Regions from separate parts of the Homo sapiens genome. Here regions 2 and 3 are each linked to region 1. The links are contacts of gene promoters, found by promoter capture Hi-C in blood cells and fetal thymus (Javierre and others, 2016). All regions are on one chromosome and are shown on one strand. Each heading gives the region's core, a stretch centred on a gene start or on the middle of the fragment in contact. The rest is flanking DNA. Distances are from core to core; before and after follow the strand shown. Region 1 holds the start of NAA15 (N-alpha-acetyltransferase 15, NatA auxiliary subunit). Region 2 overlaps MAML3 (mastermind like transcriptional coactivator 3). Region 3 overlaps MAML3 (mastermind like transcriptional coactivator 3).

Region 1 (4,903 bases), core at 1,667-4,166:
ACACACACACAAAAAAAACCCAGAAGCAATAGCAAATTGTTAACATTTGTTAAATCTAGGTGACAAATACATGAATTTCTTTTATATTCTTTTTTTTTTTTTGGAACAAGGTCTCAGCTCTGTTGCCCAGGCCGGAGAGCAGAGGTGTCATCACAGCTCACTGCAGTCTCGACCTCTGGGGCCGAAGGAATCTTCCCACCCAAGCCCACAAAGTAGCTGGGACTACAGGCTCACAGCACCACACCTGGCAAATTTTAAAATTTTTTTGTAGAGACAGGGTCTCACTATGTTGCCCAGGTTGGTCTCAAACTTCTGGGCTCAAGCGATCTTCCTGCCTCAGCCTCCCAGTGTCGGGATTATAGGTATGAGGCATTATGCCTGGCCTATGTTTTTTTTTTTGAGATGTAGTCTCACTCTGTTGTCCAGGCTGGAGTGCAGTGGTGCGATCTTGGCTCACTGCAACCTCCACCTCCCAGGTTCAAGCGATTGTCTTGCCTCAGCCTCCTGGATAGCTGGGGTTACAGGCACGCACCACCACACCCGGCTAATTTTTGTATTTTTAGTAGAGACGGGGTTTCACCATGTTGGTCAGGCTGGTCTTGAACTCCTGACCTTGTGATCCGCCCGCCTCAGCCTCCCAAAGTGCTGGGATTACAGGTGTGAGCCACCAAGCCCAGCCTTTTTTTTTTTTTTAAATAAGATCCAAGTACTTAATAAGATGTAACAGTCTCAATAGAGAACATCTTACATATATGGAGAAATTTCACTCAACATATCCCTTTTGTAGAATTAAAGTTTGCAAGGTAAATGATTTTATTTCTTTCTTTTTGGTTAATATTTTTTAGAGTTAGCATTTGGAACATAGTGACATGCAAGCACATGGGGTAAGATGAATTAACTATCATCAGCAGCAGCAGCGGCAGCATATAGCCTTGGATATGTTAACTTTCTGAAAGCATGGCTGTTACTTACAGTATAACTCAAATGGGATCTCTATTTGTGAAATTGTGGTGATCAGAGTAAATATATATTTTTTTATTCAATTCAGGCTACTGTGTGGTCAGACTGTTATCTGTAGGTGCATTTTAACTAGCAAATGAATCAGTTAAATGTTGAATCAGACTAGTATTTGCCGAGCCTTTAAAATTGCCATTTCTTTGTCATCACCCAAAAAGAATGTAACATTTGCCAAACTCTATTTCTGGCTCATCTAATCAGGTACTCAGGTTCTGGTGGAAGCTACTGATTGTTTCAAAGACCAGAAATTTTCTTCCTCTGAAGGAAAATAGAATATTCTTTACAGGAGAAATTTAGAGAACTATAGCAAATAGTATTGCTGTAGGGATTTTTGGATATGAAGCCAGAAATTTGGATATGAAGCCAGAGATTTGGAAATCCAAGCTAAAACTATCAACTGCATTTAGACTATTTTTTCTGTCTTTCAATAGTTCAGACAGTTGAAAGATCTCTTGGGGCAGTGAATTTTGCAGGTTATTACTAAGTAACAGCTTAAAAATGAATTATAAGCTTGTTCTTAGTTTTATAAAGTTAAGGTTAAAATACTGGCCATATTTCAAACTGAAACATAGTTTCCTGTATATATGATTTTTCTCAAACTTTTGAAGAGAGATCACAGAATTTAAGGAAACTCCAGGATTTGACTGTTAAAAACCTTATTTATGACCCCGGTGAAGGGCGAGGACAATCAATATAGCAGCTACAAAACCCAAGTTTATATTGGGAAACATGTATCTCAACTCACACCTTTCAGGGACAGTTAAGAGAAGTTTGAAAATTAAAATATCTTTGCAAATAAATTTAAAACAGTAAAAAACACGCACATATTGTTTAATAATTCATGATGCAAAGAATGCTACAGAGTGAAATCAGGATTTGGAAAGAGGTAATCAAAAACCAAAGGTTAAAAGTGGCTCATATAACTTGAAAATTTTTAGATCAATGGAATGCCACTTTGAAAAAGTTTTACGGTCAGCTGTTAATGAAATGACTTACATTTTTGGAAGGACTCCTATTCGGTATGTAGTCTGACCTCGCCTACTCGAGTAGTTCCCTCTAGTATCCTTGCCAGTCTTTGGCTTCTAAGATCTGAGAATTTCTGGGGATGGGGAGTTCGAGTCACAATATTAAGAACTAGTTTGAAGCCAGCTCCAGGGTAGTCTGTCTTTAAGTCTCCACTACTCCGCTCCAAGGTGACTCATAAGGTCGGTCCGTCAACTCTGCATTATATGGCCTCAACAACGAAATTAAAACACATACTTTAACCTCCAGAGCCTCCTTTGGCAGTGCAAATATGTCACTTCGGATCTGACTAACTACCTTTCCAGGCTGATCTTAAGCAACATTCACCAAATTACCGATACGACAGCCAGGCCCATTTCATCGGTCAAGCTCTTTCACGATTTCCAGACTCTGTTAAGCCCCTTTCTCCCCAGGGCTGTTAACAAGTCTCCACTGCGGTGAAGCTTTTTTCATTTTCCACTCCGCCTCTGCTCCTTAAATTAGGCATTTCGTCCATAATCAACTACAGCGCTTCTCAAACACCTACACCTGTATTTTAGCACTTTGGGCTCAAACGATGATCACACAGTGTGCGAGACTCTTTCCAAGGAATGAAAGGTCGATCTAGCAGGAAGGCGCCAGAGAGGCTGTTTTTGATGAGGAGGCGGTCTGAACCGTACTTGCCTAGCCTCCCGTAGCTCCGCGGGCGCTTCGAGGGTACCACGCACTGAAATGATGGGCGGGGCCTGCCCCGACCCTCCCGGCCTCCACAGGCAGGCCAGCCTCCAGGTTTCCCGGCAAGCTCCGAAACCCAGAGGAGGTGGGGAAAGGAGGTCACCGCGCCTGCGTGTTAGGAAGCGTGACCCGGGTGGGAAAACCCTCCGCGTCCGCCATTTTGGCTGCCTCTGTCGGTCTGTTCAGTTACCACGTGAACCGCCGACGGAGACCCGTAGTGGGGGAGGCGGCGGCAGCGTTAAGTGAGAAAGGAAAAAAGACAACGAGGAAAAAGGAGGTGTCCGGGTAGGGCAACGCGGCGACACCCGAGGCCTGGTGGTGGCGGCGGATCGAGATATTCAAGGCTGAAGCAGCTACGGAACGGCAGCGGCGGCGGTCGGACAAACTGACTGACCGAGCCGGGTGGTGGCGGGAGCAGCGGGAGCAGCCGGAACGATGCCGGCCGTGAGCCTCCCGCCCAAGGAGAATGCGCTCTTCAAGCGGATCTTGGTAAGTGTGAGGCTCCGGGCAAGCGGTGGGGAGGATTTAGCCGGTAACCGGGCCTGTCACCCCTAACCTCGGCCCGGCGGGCACTGAGCCACTCCCGCCCGGGACCCCGCCTTCATAGCTCTCGTCAGGCCGAATGCATTGCTTTGCTCCCTCTCTGTGGTTCCTACTATGGCCCGCGCGCCAGGGACCACAGGCTTCTTCATTCCATCCCCACGCTTGAGGCCCTGGTTCCGGACTAGGCCCCGACCTCCCGGCTTCTAGACTGCCGGTTCTCATTCTCCCCGATCTGGGGGAGAAGAGGCCCGGCCTTTGGCGGGCAAGTGGGCGACACCGGCAGGAGTCGCGGCCCGGTTGGTGTGGGAACCCTGCTGGCAGGTCGGGGTGGCACCCTTGGAAGGAACAGGTGGTGCGGATGCAGCAGGCTCATTCATTGCCTAAACGCGGTTCTCCCTCCATCATCTGTCCCTCCCTCTTCCTCCTCTCTTGGGATTCACCTGTCTCCGCCCGGCCCGGGGTCACCCAATGACCTGAGAGGAGGGAAAGAAGGAGTTCAGAGAAGGAAAGAAAGCTTTTCAAACGACTACCTCCTTGTAGTCAGTTGCATACTGGAGTCTTCAGCTCCTCTGCCTCCGTTGTTCTCGTTTCTGGAGTAGGGATGAGGCATTTATTTCTTAGTTTCCGAGCGGGAAACAGCCCCACCCCGTCACTCTTCTCGGGAGGTGGGGCCCATTGCGAGGGGGCGGTTCGGTAGGAAGTAAAAAGTTGAGTCTTTAGTTGAAACGTTGCAGACCTAGACTTTTCTTATACACTGAAGTATATTAACACATGCAAAAACTTACCAGAGAAATGAGAATATAAGAACTTTTGAGATGGATTTTGTTGACGCTAGCTCAGACTTATTCCCTACGGTTCAAATGTGTGCAGTTTGTATTTTTTTAAACCATAAATGCATTGATGTTTGCAGGGACTGTTTACATTGTAAAATATGTCCTGTAGCCTTGGAGCTATAATTAACACATTGTAGCACATTTTTTGTTTGGCATTTAGTATGTGGGTTCCCCCTTTCACGCAAACGTTTCCTTATGATAGAATTAACTGTATTTGCCAAATTTAAGACTTTTAAAATTTGGGATGTGTGTGTGAAAGTGTTAGCCTTTTCCCCCGCAGTTATAATTTATTTCACCTGTTTGAAAAGTAGAACAACTCTGGGGATTCAGTTTTTCTAGAAATGAATAATCATCCATTTGAACTAACTTTGATTTTACAAAAGTGTCCATATGCCCTACAGATTTAGTGAATTCATTTTGAAAAACATTAGAAAGTCACATGCAGTGTCGCAAAACTGTTACCTTGAAATTCTTACTGGAATTTTGTTTTGTTTTAAGACTAAGAGTGTAGGTGGAGCTGTAAAATAGTTTTAGGAAAAAAGTTACTTTTAAACCCTTAAAAAGACTAATTGGTGTGCAGGTAGAACTGTAACATAAGTTTAGAATAGCAATTTATCTTTAATCTCTTTTTCACAATTCTTTATTTTGAAAAAAATGAAACTGAAAAGTTGAGAGAACAAGGAACACTCATAAACCTTTACTTATATTTATTTGCCATATATGCTTTCTCTCTCCCTATGTATATGTATATATACATTTGTATAAAAGTAAGT
Region 2 (4,903 bases), core at 463-2,962, 800 kb after region 1:
AATATTTCCAAACTGGCATAGGATAGAGGGCATGAACCAGCTATCACTGACTGGCTTGGCATTTTTGTCAACCTGCCTGTATTAAGAAACCTGTCTTGAAAAGAGCATTTTTATTAAAAGCTAAAAGCCTTCAAGTCCTCCACGTTTTTCTCCACTACGAAGTATTAGAATAGAGAGAATAAGCTATCGTTCATTTATTCAACATTTACTGAACACCTATTAATTATGTGCTCGGTCCAGGGAGTTCTTAAGAGTTCTCACATTTTCAAAAACTGGGAGAACTTCTATTTTGCATATGTGAAGTGTGTTTATTTATACCCAAACAATATTGTGATAAAGAACATTTGTAGTTCACTCAAAATATTCGCAGTATGCTCAAAAGGGCAAAGGTTTTTTGAATCCGAGCTCTATTACATACAATGCGCACGTCCTTGGGCAAATTATTTCTCTAGACCTTGTTTTCTTCATCTGTGTAATGGGGAACTAGGTTTCATCATTTTTTATGAAGATTAAGTGAAATATCAGCTGGCAAGCACTTAACAGAAGCTGGCACATGGCATTCAAGCAATCATGCATTTAGTAAATATTTATTGAGCACCTCGTATACGCCAGGCTGTGTTGTAAACACAGAGCCTCACCAACCAAAGGGAGAAGCCAGATTCCCCCTTTCTTATCCTTCCCGTATCATCACCAGGACTTCTCAGGGGCTCTGAAAGCCTGTGAAAATGAAACCAACTGGACGCAGTACCAATGCCAAACACCATTATTTTCAATATCTCATGGTGCTCTGCACCAAGGATTGAATTTTCAAGTGAGATTCACGCTGCCCATGAGTCCTGGGCACAAAGGCCATGTGGCTACTGGTCTGCATCGGGCTATTCACCTGGGGACCCAAAAGCAGAGCCCTGGAGCCACCCACACCCTGGCCTCCAGGGTTTAGACAGAAATAGAACTTAAGAGACATAGGTTGCTGTCTCTCTTGCCTTTTTGCTCTTAAAATGAGAAAGGTGACTTATTTTGAGGTGGGGGAGGGATACCCTCTATTCAGAGGAAGTTCCCACATGAACTGCTACATTGTTTCTCTGACTCATTTTTACTTTTCCTCCCCATTGCTTCCCAGCCCTCCCTTGATGTCTCGGTCTGTTCCAGATGTGGTACAATAGGCTCTTTGTTTACAAGATTGTAATGTGCAATAAAATCAGTTATGAGGCCAAGAATAATTTATGCACAAAAAAATAAGGACAGTAAAATTGACATGAATTGTATGTTTTACAGTACTTTTTGATCTGTTACATTCCTGTTGATAGAATTGATAGACACTAGCTAAAAACTTTTAAGTGTTCATAAAACTCTGTTCACATTGGAAGTATATCACACACACACACACACACACACACACACACGTGCACACAAACAACTCAGGAGCAAAACTTTTTTAAAAGCCTTAAGCAAAATACTGAGTTCTTAATTTTGTTACTGACACAAGCATCCACCCAGTCTCACAAGTAAGAAATCTGTAGCTATTTTCTTTTTTTTCTTTCTTTCTGTCTTTGTTTTTAGAGACAGGGTCTCACTCTGCCACCCAGACTGGAATACAGTGGCACCATCATAGCTCACTGCAGTCTCGAACTCCTGGGTTCCAGCAATCCTCCCGCCTGGAGTTATTTTCAGTGGGTAAGGCAAGGTTTCATGGGAAATCATAGACAGTTTGTAGCCAAACATGCTTGGCTCTGAATCTCAATCCTATTCACTTCTAGCTAGGAGGTTTTTAAACATCTCAAAGCCTCAGTTACTGCATATGAAAAATGGATTTTGGTGAAAATTAAATTAGATAAAGGATGAGCAGAATGTCTGAACACATGTTTGGCAATCAGAAAGTTATTTCTCCAACCTCCCTTCCCCAACACACCTCTCAAAACCTTTCTTTTCCATTCTATCACTCAGTTTCATCTCTCCTGGACTACTGCTCTCCGACAGGGTTTTCAGCCTTTTGTCTACTACTCCTTCAAACCATCCCAAACCTGCTATTACAAACAACATTCAAAAATCAGAAATTTGATCATGGCACTCCCTGTCACAAATCCTCCTATGGTGATAACATTCAGAACAAATCTGCATTCAGAGAAAGTCCACGTGTCCCCAACCCATCTGTTCAGCCTCAACTCCCCCATGACCACCCCACCCCTGCCCCTTGAACGACCGCAGCCCCCACGTTCCAGGCACCCAGTCATTGTGAGTGGAGCATGCCATCTGCTCTGGTGCATGGACTCTCACTGCCACTCCTCCGGGATGCCAGCCCCACTCCACCCCCTCCCATCTGTAGAGATCACTGTCTCCTTCAAGGCTTAGCCCCAGTGCCACTTCCTCTCTGCAACGTTCCCGGATTTCCTCTGCTGACTCAAGCCTCCACTCATGTGTCTATGCCTTTCTCAAGTTTATTATTTAAACTTTTGTTCTCCAGTTATCCATATCTATGAGGGTCCACCCCCCTAGACTCAGTTCCTCCATGACAGAGACCAAATTGTATTCATTTTTACAAACAGTCCTCAAGTTTTATCCTTCCTTGCAAGAAGAAAATAAAACCAAACAGATAATTTATTGAACTGAAAGGACAGAATGAGGATAGAAGTAACTAAACAATGCCCCTGTGAATAGAGGCATTTCTTAGTGGAAAAACATATATATGTGTGTGTATGTTTGTATAATGTAAAAACGGAGCAAGCCATTCCCAAAGTGCTTCAAATTCTGGCAAAACTAAGATGCACTTAAAATGAAGTCTTAGGTGTATTAAAAAAAAAAAAGATTTCAAAAACCTCAGCAAACCACAGAGGTATACACCATATGTGGTAGATTAAAAATGACCACAAATTCTTTGATCCTTCTTCCATGGACAGATGTGTCTATTCCACAACCTGCGTCCACCACTTTTAAAGGTGAGTTGCCTATAACTGCTTGGACCAATCAAGTATGGGAGTGATTTTGAATATGGGAGTGATATTATGCCATTTCCAAACCTAGTGCTTAATATGACTAACAGTTTTGGCCTTGGTCTCTTGGAACCCTGGGCTTCCCTGTAAGAAATATGAGTACCCTAATGGAGAAACCACATGGAATGGCTCCAAGGCTCCATGGAGAGGCAGACAGGCCCAGTGGGGAGCTCAGTCTTCCAGGCATCCTTGCCAAGGTGCCAGGAAGGTGAGTGAAGCCATATTGGATCCTCCAGATCAGAGCAGCCATTGACTGACTAACAGCAAGGGACCAGAGTCGACGCTACATGGAATAGAAGAATCACTCAGCTGAGCCCTGCTTGAACAAAATCACAGATATAATCAAATAATGGTTGTTTAAGCCGTCAAGTTTTGGTGTGGTTTGCTAGTTAGCAATAGGTAACAGGAACACAATTTTAATCCCTTTTGGCCCAGCGTCCTACCCTACCTAATAGAACACTTTTCCTCTAAAGGGAGGAAAGTGGCCTTGTGTAGAATAGAGCTCCCAAGTCACTGATGGTCTAGTTGAAGGGATGAGAAACTCACCAGGCTCTTGGACAGTTGCAGTTGTAATGCACTTGTGTAATGTATAATACACATTTCTTTCAGATAAGTTCAGTTTACCCACAGCTGTTCTATCTGTCAACAGATATTGGGGCAAATGTGGTTAATAACTTCAGGAACAATTTGGTAGAATTCTACTCAGGAAGCCAGGAGACCCTCCATTTCAGTCTTTTACCATCCACATCTCTTGTGTATATGAGGAAGAAATGTTTGTGTCTTCATTTGCCTAGCTATCACATGAAGAGAAGCATACGTGATACCTCTTAGATCAGTGTAAATTAGAAATGAAATCAGGTTATGGACTGAAAACACCTTCAGTTCCTTGGCCAAAAAAAGGCTAGGTAAACTCAAGGTACTATCATCATTTTGCAAATATGTTATTCCACTATATAAAATAGCCTAAATTAGTAAATGCAATTCCACGTGCTGGGTCAGCTGAGCATTTTTTTTTTTTTTTTACATTTGCCAGATTCCCCTTGTTTTGTCTTTCTAGCCAATAGAACAACACTAAAATATATGGAGAATTTAACTAACTTTTGAAAAAGAGATAACACAAGTTAGAACCAGAAGAAGTCATCTGTGCCATAAGTTTGTGTCTTCTAAGAGCCATCAGCCAGGCAAAATGAAGTGGGAAACTTGAAACTTAACATGTATAAATGATTTGTGTTGTTTTGTTTTAATGCTAAGTACTCAGCAAAAAGCTGAGTTATTAGAAAATGGACACTAGCCTGTGCTTGTGGGCATAAATTCTCCATCTATGAGAAGGCATGAATTGAGGCACTATATTGATTACATTATGTTGTTTATTCTCATATAACTCTCTATTGTAGAAACGATTTCTAGCCCCATCTTCAAGATGGGAAATGGAATCCTAGAGAGACTTCATTTTTCTCCTATATTTGTATTTAGCAATTGCTATTGCTGCCGTAAGAAAATAACACAGGGTGGCTTGAACAACAGAAATTTATTTTCTCACAGTTCTGGAGGCTGGAAGTCCAAGATCAAGGTGCCAAGCAAGGCTGGTTTCTCCTGAGGCCTCTATCCTTGGCTTGCAGATGGCCGCCTCCTATCTGTGTCCTCACATGTGGCCTTTTCTCTGTGCATGCTTATGCCTGATGTCTCTTCCCCTTCTTAAAATGACACCAGTTATACTGGATTAGGGCCCCACCCTTATGACCTCATTTAACCTTAATTATCTCCTTCAAGGCCCGCCCTCCAAATACAGTCACATTGAGGATTAGGGTTTCAGCCTATGAATTTTGCAGGCACATGAGTCAGTCCCTAAGAACTCTACAAATCACCAAGCCAGTCAGTGCAGAGCCAGGGTAGACACCCTGGCTCCCTGCCATTAT
Region 3 (4,903 bases), core at 1,143-3,642, 770 kb after region 1:
GAAGAAAACCATTGATAGGTCTCAGTAGCTGCCATAATCCTTCCTTCTCTAGACATGAGTGCAGTCAGCCCTCCGTATTCATGGATTCTGCATCTGTGGATTCAACCAACAGATATTCCAAATATTTTCCAAATATTTGAAGGAAAAAATTATGACTGTACTGAACATGTACAGACTTTTTTCTTGTCATTATTCTCTCAACAATACAGTGTAACAACCATTCACATAGCATTTACATTGTGTTAGGTATTATAAGAAATCAAGGGATAACTTAAAGTATACAGGCCAGGCGTGGTGGCTCATGCCTGTAATCCCAGCACTTTGGGAGGCCAAGGTGGGCGGATCACCTGAGGTCAGGAGTTCAAGACCACCCTGACCAACATAAAGAAACCTCGTCTCTACTAAAAATTCAAAATTAGCCAGGCATGGTGGCGCGTGCCTGTAATCCCAGCTACTTGGGAGGCTGAGGCAGGAGAATCGCTTGAACCTGGGAGGCAGAGATTGTGGTGAGCCAATATCGTGCCATTGCACTCCAACCTGGGCAACAAGAGCAAAACTCCGTCTCAAAAAAAAAAAAAAAAAGTATACAGGAGGACGTCCGTAAGTTATATGCAAATACAACACCATTGTATATCAGGGACTTTAGCATCCCTGGATTTGGGTGTCTGTCAGGGGGTCCTGTAGCCATCCCCCATGGACACCAAGGGACAGCTGTACCTCACCAGTAGAAAAATATAAAAGGGAGGTAGAAGAGGATACGCTGCATGAAGTTGCCACTTCTTTGTCACTTCTTCTGGGCTAACACAGAAGATGTAAAAAGAAACAGGGGGTCCTATGTGTTCATCCCAATATGAGCATTTCCTGGGTGAAATTTCTCTAAATTTAAGTCGCCTCTCAACCTGACCAACAGAAAGTGTGTTTGTCTAGGGAGGGAGGAGGATGGCTGGTCATGAGCACTATAAAATCTATGGGAGAACTGGAAATCAACAAATCTGCAACCATCTGGCTTTCCATACCAATTTATATCCATGTTTTCTTTTTTTTTTTTTTGAGATACAGTCTCTCTCTGTCACCCAGGCTGGAGCGCAGTGGCAAGATCTTGGTTCACTGCAACCTCCACCTCCTGGGTTCAAGCAATTCTCGTGCCTCAACCTCCCAAGTAGCTGGGATTATAGGCGCCTGCCACCATGCCCGGCTAATTTTTGTATTTTTAGTAGAGACAGGGTTTCACCATGTCGGCCAGGCTGGTCTCAAACTCCTGACCTCAAGTGATCCACCCACGTAGGTCTCCCAAAGTGCTGGGATTACAGGCGTGAACCACCTCGCCCAACCCTTCACTTTTTCAACAAAATTTCTTATAGACTTCCATCAGAGAGACTCTGGTACTATAGATGAGTTCCCTGGTGTTTTGATCTTTCTCCCACCCTGCAGTGAGCACCTACTTCCTGGCTGTGAGGTATTGTGCCAGGCACCCACAGTATACAAGAGACATGAGATATGGGGATATCCATACCCTCCGCCTGCCATTTTGGGGACAGGGGGTGTATGTGAGTCAAGCAACATTCACAGCTTCTAAAGCTAGAAAAAATAGTCTTCAAAATAATCCATATGTTGCTTTTTGCAACTCATTTTAGTGCCTTGATTGGAAAGTTCTGAGGAGGATATTAATGAGAAACTGGGGTCACCAAAATCAAACAGGAGGCCTGGTTTGGAGCAGGGAGCAAAGTAATCAGAAAGAGGACACGTGGCCAGGTGTGGTGGCTCATACCTGTAATCCCAGCACTTTGGGAGGCCGAGGCGGGCAGATCACGAGGTCAAGAGATCAAGACCATCCTGGCCAACATGGTGACACCCCATCTCTACTAAAAATACAAAAATTAACCGGGCATGGTGGCGCTCACCTGTAGTCCCATCTACTCGGGAGGCTGAGGCAGGACAATAGCTTAAACACGGGAGGTGGAGGTTGCTATGAGCCAAGATTGTGCCACTGCACTCCAGCCTGGCGAGAGAGTGAGACTTCGAAAAAGAAAGAAAAAGAAAGAAAGAAAGAGAGAGAGAAAGGAAAGAAAGAAAGAGAGAGAGAGAGAAAGAAAGAGAAAGAAAGAAAGAAAGAAAGAAAGAAAGAAAGAAAGAAAGAAAGAAAGAAAGAAAGAAAGAGGACATGTGTACTATGAGGGAGAGGGTCATTATTCATCCCCAGCTATTCCCCAGCTTCTTCCTTCCTTGTACCTACCAGCAACCCCCTGGTCCTTTGAAAACATATAAGGCAGAATCCTCAGCTGCCACCACAAATGACCTCGGAAGGGTCAGCTAACAGCAACAGTCATACAGGTTGAACATTTTTAATTTAAAAATCTAAAATCTGAAATGCTCCAAAATCTGAAACTTTGTGAGTGCCAACATGATGCCCCACGTGGAAAATTCTGCACCTGACCTCATGACAGGTCGCAGTCAAAATACAAGCACACAACATGCAGTCTATTCCGCATCCCAGCTCTTCTGGTGATGCTACTGTGCTGCTTAGTTACCCTGAGCACATTAGTTTTCACTGTATTCATAGTATGTCATATTTTAGTGTTAAGTACTTATGTGTGTAAGTGTAAGAAAATGATTGCTTATAGGGGCCATATAAATTCACAGTCAGGAATGACGGTGATGCCAAACAACCACAGATGGCCCACATGGATGGCTGAGATAGTGACTCCTTTGCTTTCTGATAGTTCAATGTACACAAACTTTGTTTCATGCACAAAGTTATTAAGAATATTGTATAAAATTACCAGGCTATGTGTACAAGGTGCATATGAAGAATAAATGAATTTCGTGTTTAGAATTGGGTCCCAGTCCCAAGATATCTCATTATATATATGCAAATATTCCCAAATCCAGAAATATCCAAAATCTAAAACACTTCTGGTCCCAAGCATTTTGGATTAGAGATACTCAACCTGTAGTTTACTTTACTGAACGCTTATGATAGACTCAGCACTGTTAAGTGCTTTAGATCTATCATCTCATTTAATGCTCATAACATTTCTGTGAGGCAGGTTATTAGTGCCAATTTATCCATAAGAAGGCTGAAGTTTGGGAAATTTAAGCTATTTGGCCAAGGTCACATTGCTAGCAAGTGGCAGAGACAGGAATTTGTTCCAGGTTATGTCTCCTTCCAGTGTCAAGGTACTTTTCACCTGTCTGAGATTTTCCAAAATTAACTGCATTAAAGAATTAAGAAAAAAGTAAAATATAGATGTGTAGAAAAAAACAAGTTAACAAAATGCAAGTCTCTTGTGCTCTTAACATCAAAATCTAGATGTTTAGCAATTAATGAGTTCGCTAACCAATTTTCCTCATAGAGCGTTATAAAGAACATATATGTATGTGCACTTTATATATTTTAAAGCACAATGTGAAAGTTAAACATAGATACATATTATTTTATTTTATTTTTAGAGATAGGATGTCACTCTATCACCCAGACTGGAGTGCAATGGTGCTATCATAACTCACTGCAGCCTGGAACTCTTGGGCTCAAGCAATCCTCCCACCTCAGCCTCCTAAGTAGCTGGGACCATGGGCACACATCACCATGACTGGCCAATTTCAAATTTTTTTTGTAGAGATGACGTCTCCCTATGTTGCCCAGGCTAGTCTTTTTTGGGGGTGGGGGCGGAGGGGGACAGGGTCTCTCTCTGTCGCCCAGGCTGGAGTGCAGTGGTATGATCTTGGCTCACTGCAACCTCTGCTTCCCGGATTCAAGCGATTCTCCCACCTCAGCCTCAAGAGTAGCTGGGACTACAGGCATGCACCACAACAACCAGCTAATTTTTTGTCTTTTTAGTAGAGATGAGGTTTTGCCATGTTGGCCAGGCTAGTCTCGAACTCCTGGTCTCAAGGGATCCACCTGCCTTGGCCTCCCAAAGTGCTGGGATTACAGGCGTGAGCCACCACACCCAGCCTCCCTATGTTGCCCAGGCTGGTCTTAAACACCTGGCCTCAAGTGATCGTCCTGCCTCAGCCTCCCAAAGCCCTGGTATTAAAGGCATGAGCCACCACACCTGGCCCATTTATATATATATAATATAATATAAAAGTTATTATTTATTCTTTCTAGGAATATTCCCTCTCTATCCCCCAACCAAGGTCTGTGAAGATCAAATAAGATATTATGGGGACTAAGGATGCTCCCTTAGATATTTTCTCCAATATATTTTTAAGTTACCATTTTAATTTTGTACGTTCAAAGTGAAAATGCATTTTTTTGTAAAACAAGAGCAATAAAGCTCAGGCAAACTTCCTGGCTGGTGGAGATCTCAGGATAAGGTGTGAGCACGAAAAGGAGACAAATGAGACTTTTGTGGTTGAAATGAAAAAACTCTCCTCCATCCTGTACTGACTCTGCAGTTTTCTCCTGTCTCTTCAAAGTCTTAGGCTCCAGGCCCCTGGAAGTCCTGCTTCACCTATGCCTACTTCTCTTGCTGCCATTTGGTTTGCCTGATTTATTGAGGCTTCCAGAAAGTGCCTTTTCTTAGCTGCTGATTCTGAGCTAGTATTTGGCCTCTTTAACACATGGGCCTTTGTGTGGACACCATCTTTCCCTGAAACCTGTCTGCATCTTTTCTGTCCCTTCTAACCATCCAGTTTGTTCTTCCCCAAGATGGGCTGCCACAAGTTGCCATTTCCTGACTGGTGCATGGTTCCAGACAGCTCGCGGGCAGACACAGGGAAGGAATCTTATCTCGTTTTTGTTTTTTTGTTGTTGTTTTTGTTTTTTTCTTTTTTGTTGTGGTTGTTGCTGTTGTTTTGAAACGGAGTCTCACTCTGTTGCCAAGGCTGGAGTGCAGTGGCGCAATCTCGGCTCACTGCAACCTCCGCCTCCAGGGTTCAAGCAATTCACTCTGCCTCA

What was found. Contacts are between HindIII fragments. The CHiCAGO score rates a contact against its expected background, and 5 or more counts as called.
Region 2: a contact is called between a fragment that was not itself captured here and the fragment with the promoter of NAA15 in region 1, in 1 of 17 cell types (total CD4 T cells). The highest score is 5.5, in total CD4 T cells.
Region 3: a fragment that was not itself captured here is called in contact with the fragment with the promoter of NAA15 in region 1 in 1 of 17 cell types (activated CD4 T cells); the score reaches 5.3 in activated CD4 T cells.

Annotation. Positions count from the first base shown.
Region 1 is chr4:139,298,589-139,303,491 of GRCh38, forward strand. It overlaps NAA15 (N-alpha-acetyltransferase 15, NatA auxiliary subunit), which reads left to right and starts at 2,917. Exons shown (of 20, transcript NM_057175.5): 1 at 2,917-3,243. The coding sequence starts at 3,190. It overlaps NDUFC1 (NADH:ubiquinone oxidoreductase subunit C1), which reads right to left and starts at 3,889. Exons shown (of 6, transcript NM_001184989.2): 1 at 3,828-3,889. RefSeq lists enhancers at 2,308-2,427, 2,908-2,967. The HindIII fragment of the contact is 1,328 bases long and covers 2,482-3,809 here.
Region 2 is chr4:140,097,858-140,102,760 of GRCh38, forward strand. The region is part of intron 1 of MAML3 (mastermind like transcriptional coactivator 3); the gene reads right to left. Among named protein-coding and RNA genes, the nearest start is that of MAML3-AS1, 28 kb to the right of the region's middle. The HindIII fragment of the contact is 7,579 bases long and covers 1-4,903 here.
Region 3 is chr4:140,072,106-140,077,008 of GRCh38, forward strand. All of the region lies in intron 1 of MAML3 (mastermind like transcriptional coactivator 3), which reads right to left. Among named protein-coding and RNA genes, the nearest start is that of MAML3-AS1, 53 kb to the right of the region's middle. The HindIII fragment of the contact is 7,999 bases long and covers 1-4,903 here.